4 separate regions of the Homo sapiens genome follow, and all the other regions are linked to region 1. The links are contacts of gene promoters, found by promoter capture Hi-C in human tissues and cell types (Jung and others, 2019). All regions are on one chromosome and are shown on one strand. Each heading gives the region's core, a stretch centred on a gene start or on the middle of the fragment in contact. The rest is flanking DNA. Distances are from core to core; before and after follow the strand shown. Region 1 holds the start of RANBP10 (RAN binding protein 10). Region 2 overlaps CTCF (CCCTC-binding factor). Region 3 has its middle 6.1 kb from the start of DPEP2. Region 4 overlaps CTCF (CCCTC-binding factor).

The links. The method cuts DNA at HindIII sites, captures the fragments that hold promoters and counts their contacts. A contact is called where the count stands out against the background at its distance.
Region 2: a fragment that was not itself captured here is called in contact with the fragment with the promoter of RANBP10 in region 1 in 1 of the 25 tissues and cell types used here (bladder).
Region 3: a contact is called between a fragment that was not itself captured here and the fragment with the promoter of RANBP10 in region 1, in 1 of the 25 tissues and cell types used here (aorta).
Region 4: a fragment that was not itself captured here is called in contact with the fragment with the promoter of RANBP10 in region 1 in 1 of the 25 tissues and cell types used here (dorsolateral prefrontal cortex).

The regions. Positions count from the first base shown.
Region 1 is chr16:67,804,755-67,808,314 of GRCh38, forward strand. It overlaps RANBP10 (RAN binding protein 10), which reads right to left and starts at 1,806. Exons shown (of 14, transcript NM_020850.3): 1 at 1,548-1,806; 2 at 674-785. The coding sequence starts at 1,782. It overlaps TSNAXIP1 (translin associated factor X interacting protein 1), which reads left to right and starts at 2,135. Exons shown (of 16, transcript NM_001288990.3): 1 at 2,135-2,442. The coding sequence starts at 2,396. RefSeq lists enhancers at 929-1,549, 1,550-2,169, 1,875-2,104 and silencers at 1,525-1,744, 2,245-2,364. The HindIII fragment of the contact is 11,094 bases long and covers 1-3,560 here.
Region 2 is chr16:67,590,597-67,594,156 of GRCh38, forward strand. All of the region lies in intron 2 of CTCF (CCCTC-binding factor), which reads left to right. Among named protein-coding and RNA genes, the nearest start is that of CTCF, 30 kb to the left of the region's middle. The HindIII fragment of the contact is 6,285 bases long and covers 1-3,560 here.
Region 3 is chr16:68,003,756-68,007,315 of GRCh38, forward strand. It overlaps the pseudogene KARS1P3. Among named protein-coding and RNA genes, the nearest start is that of DPEP2, 6.1 kb to the left of the region's middle. RefSeq lists an enhancer at 2,831-3,560. The HindIII fragment of the contact is 4,078 bases long and covers 1-3,560 here.
Region 4 is chr16:67,606,313-67,609,872 of GRCh38, forward strand. All of the region lies in intron 2 of CTCF (CCCTC-binding factor), which reads left to right. Among named protein-coding and RNA genes, the nearest start is that of CARMIL2, 37 kb to the right of the region's middle. The HindIII fragment of the contact is 5,706 bases long and covers 1-3,560 here.

The sequences.
Region 1 (3,560 bases), core at 556-3,055:
CTGACCTCAGGTGATCTGCCCATCTTAGCCTCCCAAATTGCTGGGATTACAGGCGTGAGCCACCGTGCCTGGCTCCTAATGCTGACTTTAATGAGGACCTTCCTAAAGTTGATCCAACTAGTAGTGTTCAAGTCCTTGGACTGAAAAACAAGTTTATGAGCAGCAAGGTCACCTGATTCTGATCATGTGTATGCTGTTTACCCTGAGATGACAGGCCGGTGGCCACAGAAGCTTTCATGAATGCTGCAAAGACTCTACTATCTCTTTGAAGGCTACCAGGGCCTCCACATGACTAAATGCCATAAAAAAGAACCTCATGAATACAGCAAGAATGTGAAAGGAAGGAAGTCACAAAAACACCACATGCTCATGAGGGAAACTCCATTCTGGACACTAAATTTTTAAAGTAAACTTGTTACTTGTTTGCCTAACCTTCTAGGTATCAAATTACATCATCACTAAAAATAATCCCTGCTTTACCCCCAACACACCCACTGGCCATCAAGATCTGCTGCTTAGACCAGACCATGCCCACAGTCAGGAAATAATGGCAGCCCAGACCCATGCGGCTCCCCAGCTCACATCAGCAACAAGTGCCAGCCAAAGGACCTGAACTCTGACCACAGGGATCAGCTCCATGATCAGGGAAAGAGGGTGGTCATGAAGGGCTTACCCATCTCTTCCTTTGCTGACAATCTTCACTTCAAAGTAATAAATGCCACAGGCAGCAGGTATGGGGTGGGTGGCACGCACTGAGGCCGCATCTTTGTGATTTTTGCCATGACCTAACAGGAGAGGGCAAGTAAGAAATTTCAGCAGAAGGAAATGCAAATGGAAGCCTCATTTTTCTCTGCAACTCCTCCATGACAACTCCACTCCTCTGTGGCCAGAGGACGCACTTACACAGGCCGAGGAATCATTAGACAACTGAATAAACACTTAAACCTTCCACCTTTGCCTCACCTCCTCCTGAGAACAGCAGTCCTGCCTGAGACACTGCCCATACAAACAAAACAAGGGTAGAGGCAATGTGAGAGATACTCAAGTGCTGCTGGCAGCCTCTCTAGAATCCAGGCAGCCCACCTGGGAGGCCAGGGGAAGAAGGATGAGGCCGACCTGGAAGACACCCCCCAAACTCTAGCACGGAACCCCAGGCTCAGTCTAGGATGCCTGGCAGGTGGGGAAGCCCATGAGTCTCACGCTAATGGTAGGTATGTGACCACCCCTTTCTTCTAAGCAGTGGCGAAAGGTCCCGCTGCCGTTGGCGCCAGCCTAGGATAAGCACGGAGGCCCTGGAGTGGAAGGTCCGGCCCAGCACTGGGTTTGGACACCTGTTGCGGTTCTCTTGACGGCAGGTGTCTCAGGACAGAGAACAGGCAGTCAGCCCTCGGCCTGTTCAGCCTCACCACCCTGGACATCCTGAAAGGGCCAAGCCCTAACTTGGAGCACCTAGGCAGGGAAAGGGAGGTGATAGGGCGGGGGCCTGGCAGCAGAGCCACCCCACGGACGCTCTAGCCTTAATTCCCCCCAGCCTGACGGGCCGATACCTTTGTAGTGGACGCGGAGGTTGCCCTGGGAGAGACCAATGTAGTTGTATTTGTCCTTGGGGCTCCAGGAGCGCGGCAGCGGAGTCTCTTGCTGGTTGACCGCGGGATACAGGCGCTGCAAGCGCCGGCTCAGCTCCTGCTCCCCAGGGGACGGCAGCCCGCCCCCAGCGCCCCCGCCGGAGGAGTCCCCAGGCTGCGGGTTCCCAGCTCCCGGGTCTGCCGTCGCTGCCGCCATCTTGGAGGGAGCTACTATTGTGTCACTGGGGGCGGGGAGGAGCGGGACCAGATCCGCCCCGCTCAGCCAATGGCCCGTGAGCCTCCCTGGGCCGCAGGGAAACCGAGTCCGAGTCCGGCACCCCTCTTTGGACACTGACACGCCTTACCACATTTCGAACTCCATACCCCACAATGCAGAGCTCTCGAGAGGCGGAGCAACTCGGGCTGGTAGAGAATTCTGGGAGATGTAGTATAACCGTCCTCAGCCATAAGCCTGTCCCATCGAGACGTCGGGACACCGAAAACTACCATTCCCGCCGGCAAAGCGGCTCCGGCCTCTCAGCACACTTCCCTCCCCATGGCCTCTGTTCATCCCCCTGCCTCAGTTCTGGTACCTGGGGTCAAATCGGCTGTAGTGGTTGACTCTCAGGGCACCCGCTGCCGGGTCCCAGTCCACCTTTGCTACTTTGTCCTACTCCCAGCCCGCGGGCGCTAGGCTCGGGGGCGTGGCGCATCCCTGACTCCGCCCCCGCCGCGGGGGGGCCTCTGGGGCCTGGTCGCCATGGCGACCGGCTGTACGCTACCACAGCTTCCCAGGCCGCGGGTGCTGATTGCCCGCCTGCCCGTGGGTCATGGCCTGCCAGCAGTCGCGGTACCACAGCTTCTCGTCCGCGTCGAGGTAGGCGCTGGCAGGGATGAGGGCAGAGATGAGGGTTTGAGTACTTCTAGAGAGGGAAATGGCACTTGATCCGGACCTCTGCACCTCCTGCTGGCCTCTGACCATTGATCTAGGGCTCCAGCACCACAGAGTCAATGGTTAGAATCGGGCTGATTTAGCCCAGTGAAGACGTTACGTGCTAGCAAAACGGTAGGCGCACTTTATCATTACTAGTAACAACCAGCTTGTATTGAATGTACTATATGCCAAATGCTTTATATACCACATTTTTAAATATTTTATTTTTGAGACAAGATCTCGTTCTGTCGCCCAGGCTGGAGTGCAGTGGCACTACTACGGCTCACTGCAGCCTCGACCTCCCGGGCTCAAGCGATCCTTCTACCTCAGCCTCCCGAGTAGCTGGGACTACAGGCATGCGCCACTACGCTTGGCTAATTTTTGGGTGTTTCTTTGTTCGTTTGTTTTTTGTAGAGACGAGGTTTCACCACGTTGCCCAGGCTGGTTTCGAACTCCTAGACTCAAGCGACCCTCCCACTTCGACCTCTCAAACTGGGATTACAAGCGTGAACCCCCACACCCGGCCTACGTACCATATTTAATCCTCACAACAACTGTATAAAGTAGTAATATTACCATTGAACAAGTAAAGAAATACTTTAGAAGCCTGGAGAGATCATCCTCTGGGTAGCTTCTGCCTGTACTCAGGTGTATAGCCTCTGGGTACTGCAAAATATGACCAGCTCCATCAGCCTGGAGAGCCATACATACGGATTAAAACAAAAATTTTGGCTAAATCGTTTTCTAGTTTTGGGACTTCAGACAGGGCCCTTCAAGTTCCAGGCCTCAGCTTATATATCTCAAACATGGGAATGATACAGCCCACCCCACAAACATTGTTGGGAACATTTAGGCAGAATATGTGAAGCTCTTGACACAGCTCTTGTATGTAATAGGCACCCAGTAAGTGTTGAATGAATGTAGTGTCCCCCCTTCTACTCATTCCCAGTGGGGGAAAAAAAAAAAAACACCACCCAATCCCACCTAAACTCTTCAGGGTCTGCTGCCTTGACAGAGAAAAGCCTACAAAAGCCCCTAAGAGGCCAGGCACGGTGGCTCAC
Region 2 (3,560 bases), core at 372-2,871, 210 kb before region 1:
AAAGTGCTGGGATTACAGGCGTGAGCCACCGTGCCCGGCCCTAACTGTTCTTTTAAAAATTGGCCGAGCACGGTGATCGGCCAGGTGTGATGGCTCACACCTGTAATCCTAGCACTTTGGGAGGCTGAGGAGGGTGGATCAGCTGAGGTCAGAAGCTCAAGCCCAGCGTGGCCAACATGGCGAAACCCTGTCTCTACTAAAAATACAAATATTAGCCGGACATGATGTTTGGTGCCTGTAATCAATCCCAGCTACTTGGGAGGCTGAGGCGGGAGAATCGCTTGAACCCGGGAGGTGGAGGTTGCAGTAAGCTGAGATGGCACCATTGCACTCCAGCCTGGATGACAGAGTGAGACTCTGTCTCAAAAAAAAAAAAAAAAAAAAAAATGCTGGACTGGGTGGCTCACACAAATGCTGTGATTACAGGCGTGAGCCACCGTAATCCCAGCACTTTGGGAGGCCGAGGCGGGCAGATCACTTGAGGTCAGGAGTTTGAGACTAGCCTAGCCAACATGATGAAACCCCATCTCTACGAAAAATACAAAAATTAGCTAGTCGTGGTGATGCGTGCCTGTAATCCCAGCTACTCAGGAGGCTGAGGCTGAGAATTGCTTGAACACAGGAGGCAGAGATTGCAGTGAGCCAAGATCTCACCACTGCACTCCAGCCTGGGTGACAGAGCGAGACTCTGTCTCAAAAAATAAATGAAAATTAATGTCAGAGAAGTGAGAGGTACAGTTGTGATTAAATAGATGAGTGCTTTTTCAGATAAAGGCTGCTTCCGTTCCCAGTCACTGTGAAAGAAATGGTCACTATTATTTTTCTGCTTCTCAGCCCAAGTTATTCTCCCAATTCAACTCCTCCTCATTCTTTATTGTAGTCTACAACTTTCCTGGTACTAGTTCACTGATACTTTGCTTTGATGTATTTTAAGCTCTCAGATAAGATGATGGCGTATATGTTTTCAGGAATAGCAGAGTAAAATGGTTATTTTGTTTAACTTTTAAACCTAGCTTTTACTCTAAAAGAGTTAATAACTTTTATTCGTTTTGGCTAGTGTCCTGCATCTAGTAAAAGTTACTTAGCTTTTCCTTTCATCCTCAGGAAAAACTGATTACTTTTTTTGGGGGGGGGCAGTAAGGGCACAGAGTCTTGCGCTGTCACTCAGACTGGAATGCAGTGGTGTGATGATAGCTTACTGCAGCCTGGGCTCAGGCGATCCTCCCGCCTCAGTCCCGAGTAGCTGGGACTACAGATGGATGCCATCATACCTAGCTAATTTTTTTTTTAATTTTTAATGGAGACAAGGTCTCACTATGTTGCTCAGGCTGGTCTTGAACTCCTGGGCTCAAACGATTCTCTTGGCTCTGCCTCCCCAAGTACTGGGATTATATGTGTGAGCCACTGTGCCCGACCTGATGACTTATAATTGCTTTTTTTCCCCTCCTTGTCCTAATGTCATTTAACATTCTGTATAGTGAGAATACCAGACTAAGCTTTTCAGTCAACATTTTTCTAATGTAAAGATCTATCGACTGGACGCAGTGGCTCACACCTGTAAACCCAGCACTTTGGGAGGATGAGGCGGGCACATCACCTGAGGTCAGGAGTTTGAGACCAGCCTGGCCAACATAGTGAAACCCTGTCTCTACTAAAAATACAAAAATTTGCTGGGCATAGTGGTGTACGCCTGTGATCCCAGCTGCTCAGGAGGCTGAGGCAGGAGAATTGCTTGAACCCTGGAGGCAGAGGTTGCAGTGGCCGGGATTGTGCCACTGCGCTCCAGCCTGGGTGGCAGAGCAAGAATCTGTCTAAAAAAATAAATAAGGCCAGGCACAGTGGCTCATGCCTGTAATCCCAGTAATTTAGGAGGCTGAGGTGGGAGGATCACCAGAGCTCAGAAGTTTGAGACCATCCTGACCAGTATGGTGAAACCCTGTCTCTACTAAAAATATAAAAATTAGCCGGCATGGTGGCATGCGCCTGTAGTCCCAGCCACTCGGGAGGCTGAGACATTAGAATTATTTGAGCCCAGGAGGCGGAAGTCGCAGTGAGCCAAGATCGTGCCACTGCACTGCAGCCTGGGTGACAGAGTGAGACTCCGTCTCAAAAACAACAACATCAAAAAAAGATACTTACAGAGGCCAGGCGTTGGTGACTGGCTCAACGTCAGTAATCTCAGCACTTTGGGAGGCCGAGGTGGGTGGATCACTTGAGCTCAGGAGTTTGAGACCAGCCTGGCCAACATGGTGAAACCCCGTCTCTACTAAAAATACAAAAATTAGCGGGGCACAGTGGCATGTGCCTGTAGTCCCAGCTACTTAGGAGGCTGAGGCAGGAGAATCGGTTGAACCTGGAGGCAGGGGTTGCAGTGAGCCGAGATCGCGCCACTGCATTCCAGCCTGGGTGACAGAGTGAAACTCCATCTGGAAAAAAAAAATTTATATATATATGTATAAATGTTTAATATATATTTTATATTTATATATTTGTATATCTTTTTTATATTTTAATATATGGTTTTTAATATATATTTTATACATATAAAGAGAAAGGTGCAAGGTATCTTCTGTTCTCTTAAAATTTTTTACAATTTCAACTTTTATTTTAGATTCGGGGGTACATGTCCAAGTTTTTTTGTGTACATGGGTATATTGTGTGATTATGAGGTTTGGGGGTACAATTGTTGCTCATCACCCAGGTAATGAGCATAGTACCCAATGATTAGTTTTGCAGCCCTTACCCCGTTTTCTCCCTCCCCCTCCTAATCCCTAAGGCCTATTGTTATGTTTATGTCCATGTGTACCCAGTGTGTAGCTTCCACTTGTAAGTGAGAACATGAGATACTTGGTTTTCTGTTCCTGCCTTAATTCGCTTAGGATAATGACCTCCAGCTGCATCTGTGTTGCTGTAAAGGACATTATTTCATTCTTTTTTATGGCTGTGCGTTCTCTGCCTTCTTATGATGTCTGAGGGTTCGTATCAACCTCTGTTAGGCCATTTGTTAGGTACCCTTCATGTTGACTTTCAGAATTTCTGTGGCTTGTGAAAGTTCATGGGGTCTTAGAGCTGCTAATGTATTTCTTACCAAGAGAATGCAGATAGACTTCTGATCTCCCCAGGAAATAAGTTGGGGTTTTTAGCAATCAGTTGCCCCTTATAATGGATAGTAAGCAGTATATTAAAAAGTTGTGGGTTTAGTTATAAAATAGACTGCTGGAAATCATTCTCTTCTACTGTCTTATTCTCAGTACACATGGATTATTCCTAGTATAATAACCAGTCTACTTAACTGACTAAACTCTGCAGTGGTGAGTATAAAAGGTTGTTTTGGTTGTTTTCCTTTGGAAATTGTCTGACATATTTGCTATGTAGTCATAATCATAGGTGATAAATTACTAAACCTTAATATCTTCAAAAATTAGTGTATTCACAATTAGCTTCCATTTTTACATGGCAGGATTTTAAAAAATCTAACCTGTAATTGTGTTTTTGGGAATTTTTATTTTTCTCTATTAAGAAGTGACACAGGCTGAGCATGGTGGTTTATGCCTGTAATC
Region 3 (3,560 bases), core at 567-3,066, 200 kb after region 1:
AGCAAGGCCACAGCAGTGTGATCTCATAGGGAATGAAGCTCAGCTCATCCTTCTTGGTTTTTCCCAGGATTCCTCTGAATTCCAATTATGTTTCCCCAACGCAGTTTGTTATTAATATGAATAAATTATTCTTCCTGAAATTATAATTCCTGAAATTGGCCATGACTTGCAACTTGACCCCCTCTGCTCAAAGATCATAGAAGTTCATGGCTGGGCACTGTGTCTCACGCCTATAATCCCAGCACTTTGGGAGGCCAAGGCAGGCAGGCAGATCACCTGAGGTTGGGAGTTCGAGATCAGCCTGACCAACATGGAGAAACCTCACCTCTACTAAAAATACAAAATTAGCCGGGCGTGGTGGCGCACGCCTGTAATCCCAGCTACTAGGGAGGCTGAGGCAGGAGAATTGCTTAAACCTAGGGAGGAGGAGGTTGCAGTGAGCTGAGATTGTGCCATTGCATTCCAGCCTGGGCAACAATAGTGAAATTCCATCTCAAAAAAAAAAAAAAAAAGATCATAGAAGTTCAGCTTTCCTCCAAAAGCTTTTTTGGCATGGATCCTATCTGTCACGTTTAAGGTGATATCAGTCAGGAGATCCCCAGTTTGCAGGTGACAATATTCTGGGATGAAGTCAGTGAGGGAGATGTCTACATGGATCTCGTTGGGGTATGGGTCTTTCCCATTGACCTACCTGACTGCAAATCTTTTTTTTTTTTTTTTTTTTTGAGACAGAGTCTCGCTCTGTTGCCCAGGCTGGAGTGCAGTGGCTCAATCTCAGCTCACTGCAACCTCCACCTCCCAGATTCAAGCGATTCTCCTACCTCAGCCTCCCAAGTAGCTGGAATTACAGGCATGTGCCACCATGCCCAGCTAATTTTTGTATTTTTAGTAGAGATGGGGTTTCATCATGTTGGCCAGGCTGGCCTCGAACCCCTGACTTCAAGTGATCTGCCTGCCTCAGCCTCCCAAAGTGCTAGGATTACAGGAGTGAACCACCGGGCCTGGCCTTGGCTGTGGATCTTGTAGTACTGATTTGGGTCCAGGCTCTCCTCCTCAGGACCCACACCATTGTCAGTGGTATGGTTGGTGGCAGCAGCAGTGACCTGGGCTTAGCTGTTTCTCACTGAGCTCTTACTGCTTGGCTGCCTTCTCTGCCACTTTCTTCTCGGCTTTCAGGTATCTCTTCGGCTTGTTCTTGCTCAGTTTTGACTCACCACCATCCACTTTAACCTTGGCCCCTTGTACTGCAGTCATCTTCCCAGAGGGCCTGGACCCAAAATTGTGTTTTTTTTCTTTTTCTTTTTTTTTTGAGATGAAGTCTTGCTCTGTTGCTCAGGCTGGAGTGCAGTGGCGCAATCTCGGCTCGCTGCAACTTCTGCCTCCAGGGTTCAAGGGATTCTCATACCTCATCCTCCAGAGTAACCAGGAATACAGGCACCCACCACCACTCCCAGCTAAATATTCACATTTTTAGTAGCGATGGGGTTTTGTCATGTTGTCCAGGCTGGTCTCGAACTCCGGGCCTCAAGTGATCCTCCCACATCAGCCTCCCAAAGTACTGGAATATAGGCATGAGCCGCTGTGCCTGGCCCTGTTTTTTGTTTTTTTCACGTGGCCGTGTAGTTAAGGAACCAGCCTTATCGTGTGGGTAAGAAAATTGAGCAGCTGGTCAGATGAGGGGTTCCTTCAATCCCTCCACTTCCAGCTGCTGCCTCTAGGAAAGGCCTCAAATTCCTTACCTCAGCTTCCTGGGATTACAGGCGCACGCCACCATGCCTGGCTAATTTTTTTATTTTTAGTAGAGACAGGGGTTTCTCCATGTTGGCCAGGCTGGTCTCAAACTCATGACCTCAAGGGATCTGCCCACCTCAGTCTCCCAGAGTGCTAGGATTACAGGCGTGAGCCACTGTGCCCAGCCTCAAATTCCTTACATCTATCAGTTTGTCCGGGCATCATTTCCTGATCACCCACTGGTGCTGGCCATTTGCTGGGGTGTGCAGTGAGGTGGCTGGATAAGTCTCCAGCTATCACATGTGCTGGCATAAGCACATGGGGGTGGAGGGTGGGCTCTGTAGAGGCCCCCAAGATCCAGGAGCCAGTGCTGACCAAACATCTAGACAACATGTGTGATTTCACATTTAACCTCAAATTCAGACTTGCTGTCTCTTGCTTAACCTTGTCTGCTGATCTCCGAGGGCTATCAGACCTGTTTCTGCAAAAACACAGTGAAGTCACAGCACACCCTGCCCCGGAGCTCTCTAAGCTTCCTGTTTTTATGCAGAAAGCCTGCCCTCCTGTGAAGCTGACCATGTGAGATCTCACTGACTCCGCATCTGGGTGAATCTGAGAAGCTTAGTTAAAAACAACAACACAAAACTTTTTTTTTGAAACTGTATCTCCCTCTGTGGCCTAGGCTGGAGTGCAGTGGTGCCGTCATGGCTCACTGTAGCCTCAAATTCGGGGCTCAGGTGATCCTCTCACCTCAGCTTCCCGAGTAGCAGGGACTACAGGGTGGTGCCACCACACCCAGCTAATTTTTTTTTTTTTTTTGGTAGAGATGGGATTTCACCATGTTGCCAGGCTGGTCTCAAACCCCTGGTCTCAAGTGATCCTCCCACCTTAGCCTCCCACAGTGTTGGGATTACAGGCATGAGCCACTGTGCCCAGACCAAAAAACTTTTTATAGGAAAAATTGCAAATACATGAGAAAGGAGAGAGAAAAGTGTATTAACTCCCATGTAGCCATCACCCAGTTTCAAAGATTACCAACTGATGGCTCATCTTATTTCATTTATGCTCTCACTCACCTCTTTCTACAGATTATTTTAAAGCAAATCATAGACATCTATTTCATCCATTTTTAAGTATGCCTCTCTAAAAGGTAAGGGCTCTTTTTAGGCTGGGCACGTGGCTCTTGCCTGAAATCACAGCACTTTGGAAGCTTGAGGTGGGTGGATCACCTGAGGTCAGGAGTTGGAGACCAGCCTGGCTAACATAGCGAACCCCATCTCTGCTAAAAATACAAAAATTAGCTGGTTGTCGTGGAGGACACCTATAATCCCAGCTACTCAGGAGTCTGAGACAGGAGAACTGCTTGAACCCAGGAGGCAGAGATTGCAGTGAGCTGAGATCATGCCACTGTACTCCAGCCTGGGCAGCAGAGAAAGACTCAGTCTCTAAATAAATAAATAAATAAATGGTAATGGCTGTTTTTAAAAGACAACTATAAGCCAGGTGCACTGGGCCATTCCTGTAGTCCTACTAGCTATTTGGGAGGCTGAAACAGGAGGATTGCTTGAGCCCAGGAGTTTGAGGCCAGCCTGGGCAGCATACTAAAACCCTGTTTCTGAAAAATAAAATAAAATAAATAAATATATAAATAAATGGCAATTACCATACCATTATGACCCTTATAAAAGTTAACAGTACTTTTCTTTTAAAATTTGTAGAGACAGGGTCTTTTTTTTTTGAGACAGAGTCTCCCTCTGTTGCCCAGGCTGGAGCGCAGTGGGGTGATGTCGGCTCACTGCAAACTCCGCCTCCTGCGTTCACGCCATTCT
Region 4 (3,560 bases), core at 698-3,197, 200 kb before region 1:
CTGCTCACGTTTCAGGGTTCCGTTCAAATTCCACATTTATGAAGCATTTTTCTATCACACCTGGTTATGTTATCTTTCTCCAAACCTATGTAATTTCACCTTGAACCATTGTGCTACCTATTTTGTCCTTTATGTTAGACAGTAACTCCTAGAATGTAGGACCAGGCCTCCCAAAATGCTGGGATTACAGGCGTGAGCCACCACGCCCGGCCCCTATTTTGCTCTTGTTTAGGTAATGTCATTCTCTCTGTAGTAGTTCTTGTGCTGCCTCTCAGGTGGTCCTGGCTTAAGGAGTCTTCTCTGACTGCTATCATGGATATAATACAATGTTAAGGTGCCTAGACAGAGAATTGGAGAAAAGTGTGTCTAATAGAACTAACAAAAGCTTCGTTTGAGCTGTATTCTTGGCCAAAAATACAAAACACTTCAATGTTTTGTTTTGGGTTTTTTTTTTTTTTTTTTTTGAGACATAGTTTCACTCTTATCGCCCAGGCTCCAGGCTGGAGTGCAGTGGCACTCGGCTCACTGCAATCTCCGCCTCCAGGCTTCAAGCAATTCTCGAGCCTCACTCAGCCTTCCAAGTAGCTGGGATTAGAGGCACACCCCACCACACTCAGCTATATATGTTTTATTTTATTTTAATTATTATTATTTTTTTGAGACAGAGGCTCGCTCTGTTGCCCTGGCTGGAGGGAGTACAGTGGCCCAATCTCAGCTCACTGCAACCTCCACCTCCCAGGTTCAAGCAATTCTTCTGCCTCGGCCTCCTGAGTAGCTGGGATTACAGGCATGTGCCACCACACCTGGCTAATTTTTGTATTTTTAATAGAAACGGGGTTTTGCCGTGTTGGCCAGGCTTGTCTCCATCTCCTGACTTCAAGTGATCTGCCCGCCTCGGCCTCCCAAAATGCTGGGATTACAGGCCTGAGCCACCACGCCTGGCCCCTATTTTACTCTTGTTTAGGTAATGTCATTCACAAGATTTTTGTTTGTTTTTTATTTTTTGTTTTTGAGACCGAGTCTCACTCTGTCGCCCAGGCTGGAATGCAGGGGCACTTTCTCAGCTCGCTGCAACCTCCACCTCCAGGGTTCAAGTTCTTTTCGTGCCTCAGCCTCCCAAGTAGCTGGGATTACAGGTGCACACCACTACGCCTGGCTAATTTTTGTATTTTTAGTAGAGATGGGGTTTTGCCATGTTAGCCAGGCTGGTCTTGAACTCCTGGCCTCAACTGATCCACCAGCCTTGGCCTCCCAAAGTGCTGGGATTACAGGCGTGAGCTACCGTGCCCGGCCCATTCACAAGATATAAGAGCCAAAAACTATGAATTGGCTGATTTGTTTTCTGCTTTCTATTATATATTCAATTTGGTTGGCATTTATTGAGTACTTACCATCCTGGGCACAGTGCTAAAGAGTAAAAACCGTGGCTGGGCGTGGTGGCTCACGCCTGTAGTCCCAGCACTTTGGGAGGCCGAGGCGGACAGATCACGAGGTCAGAAGTTCAAGACCAGCCTGGCCAACATAGTGAAACCCCGTATCTGCTAAAAATACAGAAAATTAGCCAGGTGTGGTGGTGGGCACCTGTAATCCCAACTACTCCGGAGGCTGAAGCAGGAGAATCACTTAAACCTGGGAGGCAGAGGTTGCAGTGAGCCAAGATCACGCCATTGCACTCCAGCCTGGGCGACAGTGCGAGACTCCGACTCAAAAAAAAAAAAAAAGTAAAAACCGGTTGGGCGCAGTGGCTCACACCTGTAATCCCAGCACTTTGGGAGGCCGAGGCAGGCGGATCACGAGGTCAGGAAATCGAGACCATCCTGGCTAACATGGTGAAACCCCGTCTCTACTAAAAATACAAAAAATTAGCCGGGCATGGTGGTGGGCGCCTGTAGTCCCAGCTACTCGGGAGGCTGAGGCAGGAGAATGGCGTGAACCTGGGAGGCGGAGCTTGCAGTGAGCGGAGATCGTGCCACTGCACCCTAGCCTGGGCAACAGAGCGAGACTCCGTCTCAAAAAAAAAATTAAAAAAAAAAAAACGACTTGTTAGATGTGGTTCTTATTCTCAGGGAATTCCTGATCTCATTGTCAGGAGAGAGGTGAATGTCAAGTTGATGGTATGACATGGGCAGTTTTGTGCAGTGTCTACAAACACGGCCATTGCAGTCTGGATCTAAGTTCTGAGTTTGGCTTCAAAAAACAAGGTCAAAAACCCTTGACAGGGTGGGGAAAATGGGGAATTGCTGTTGAGTGGGTATAAAGTTTCAGTTATGCAAGATGAGTAAGTTCTAGAGATCTGCTACACAACATAGTTCCTGTATTAATCGTATAGCATTATGCACTTTGAATTATGTTGAGGATGGATCTCATGATAAATATTATCACCAAAAACAAAATACAAGGAAATTTTGGAGGTGTATTTAGTGTTTTTTTTTTTCTTTTTTGAGACGGAGTTTCGTTCTTGTTGCCCAGGCTGCACAGTACAATGGCGCAATCTTGGCTCACCGCAACCTCCACCTCCCGGGTCAAACGATTCTCCTGCCTCAGCCTCCCAAGTAGCCAGGATTACATACAGGCATGCACCATCACACCTGGCTAATTTTGTATTTTTACTTAGGACGGGGTTTCTCCATGTTGTTCAGGGTGGTCTCGTACTCCCGACCTCAGGTGATCCACACACCTCAGCCTCCCAAAGTGCTGGGATTATAGGCGTGAGCCACCACGTGCTTAATAAAGCTACCTTAATAAAGCTTTTTACAAAACATTGGCAGACCCGGGCACAGTGGCTCAGTCACATGTATAATCCCAGCACTTTGGGAGGCTTAGGTGGGAGGATTGCTTCAGCCCAGGAGTTCAAGGCCAGTCTGGAAATGTGGCAAGACCCCATAATTGCAGAAAATTAAGCTAATTCATATATGCATCATCTCACATCCTTGTCATTTTTTGTGATGAGAACACTTAAAAATCTGCTCTCAGTTATTTTCAGGTATACGTTATTATTAACTGTAATATTCATGTTGTATAATAGATCTCTTGAACTTATTCCCACTGAAATTATATGTCCTTTACCAGTGTCTTCCCCACTACATGTGTAAGATTTAAATTAGTTTTGTTAGTAATTCTTTAATATCATCAGATATCCAGAGTTGAAATTTCTAATTGTCTTGTGTCACATCTTTTTCACCATTTATTGGTTTGAATCAGGATCCAAAGAAGATTCATGCATTGTGATTGATTACTGTCTCTTTAAGACTCTTTTATCTGTATCAGAGTTTCTCAGCCTCAGTGCTCTTGACATCTTGGGCCTGATAATTCTTTTTTTTTTTTTTTTTGAGATGGAATCTCGCTCTGTCGCCCAGGCTGGAGTGCAGTGGCGCGATCTTGGCTCACTGCAAGCTCCGCCTCCCAGGTTCACGCCATTCTCCTGCCTCAGCCTCCCAAGAGCTGGGACTACAGGCGCCCACCACCACGCCCGGCTAATTTTTTTGTATTTTTTAGTAGAGACGGGGTTTCACCGTGTTAGCCAGGATGGTCTCGATCTCCTGACCTCCGGTAATCTGCCC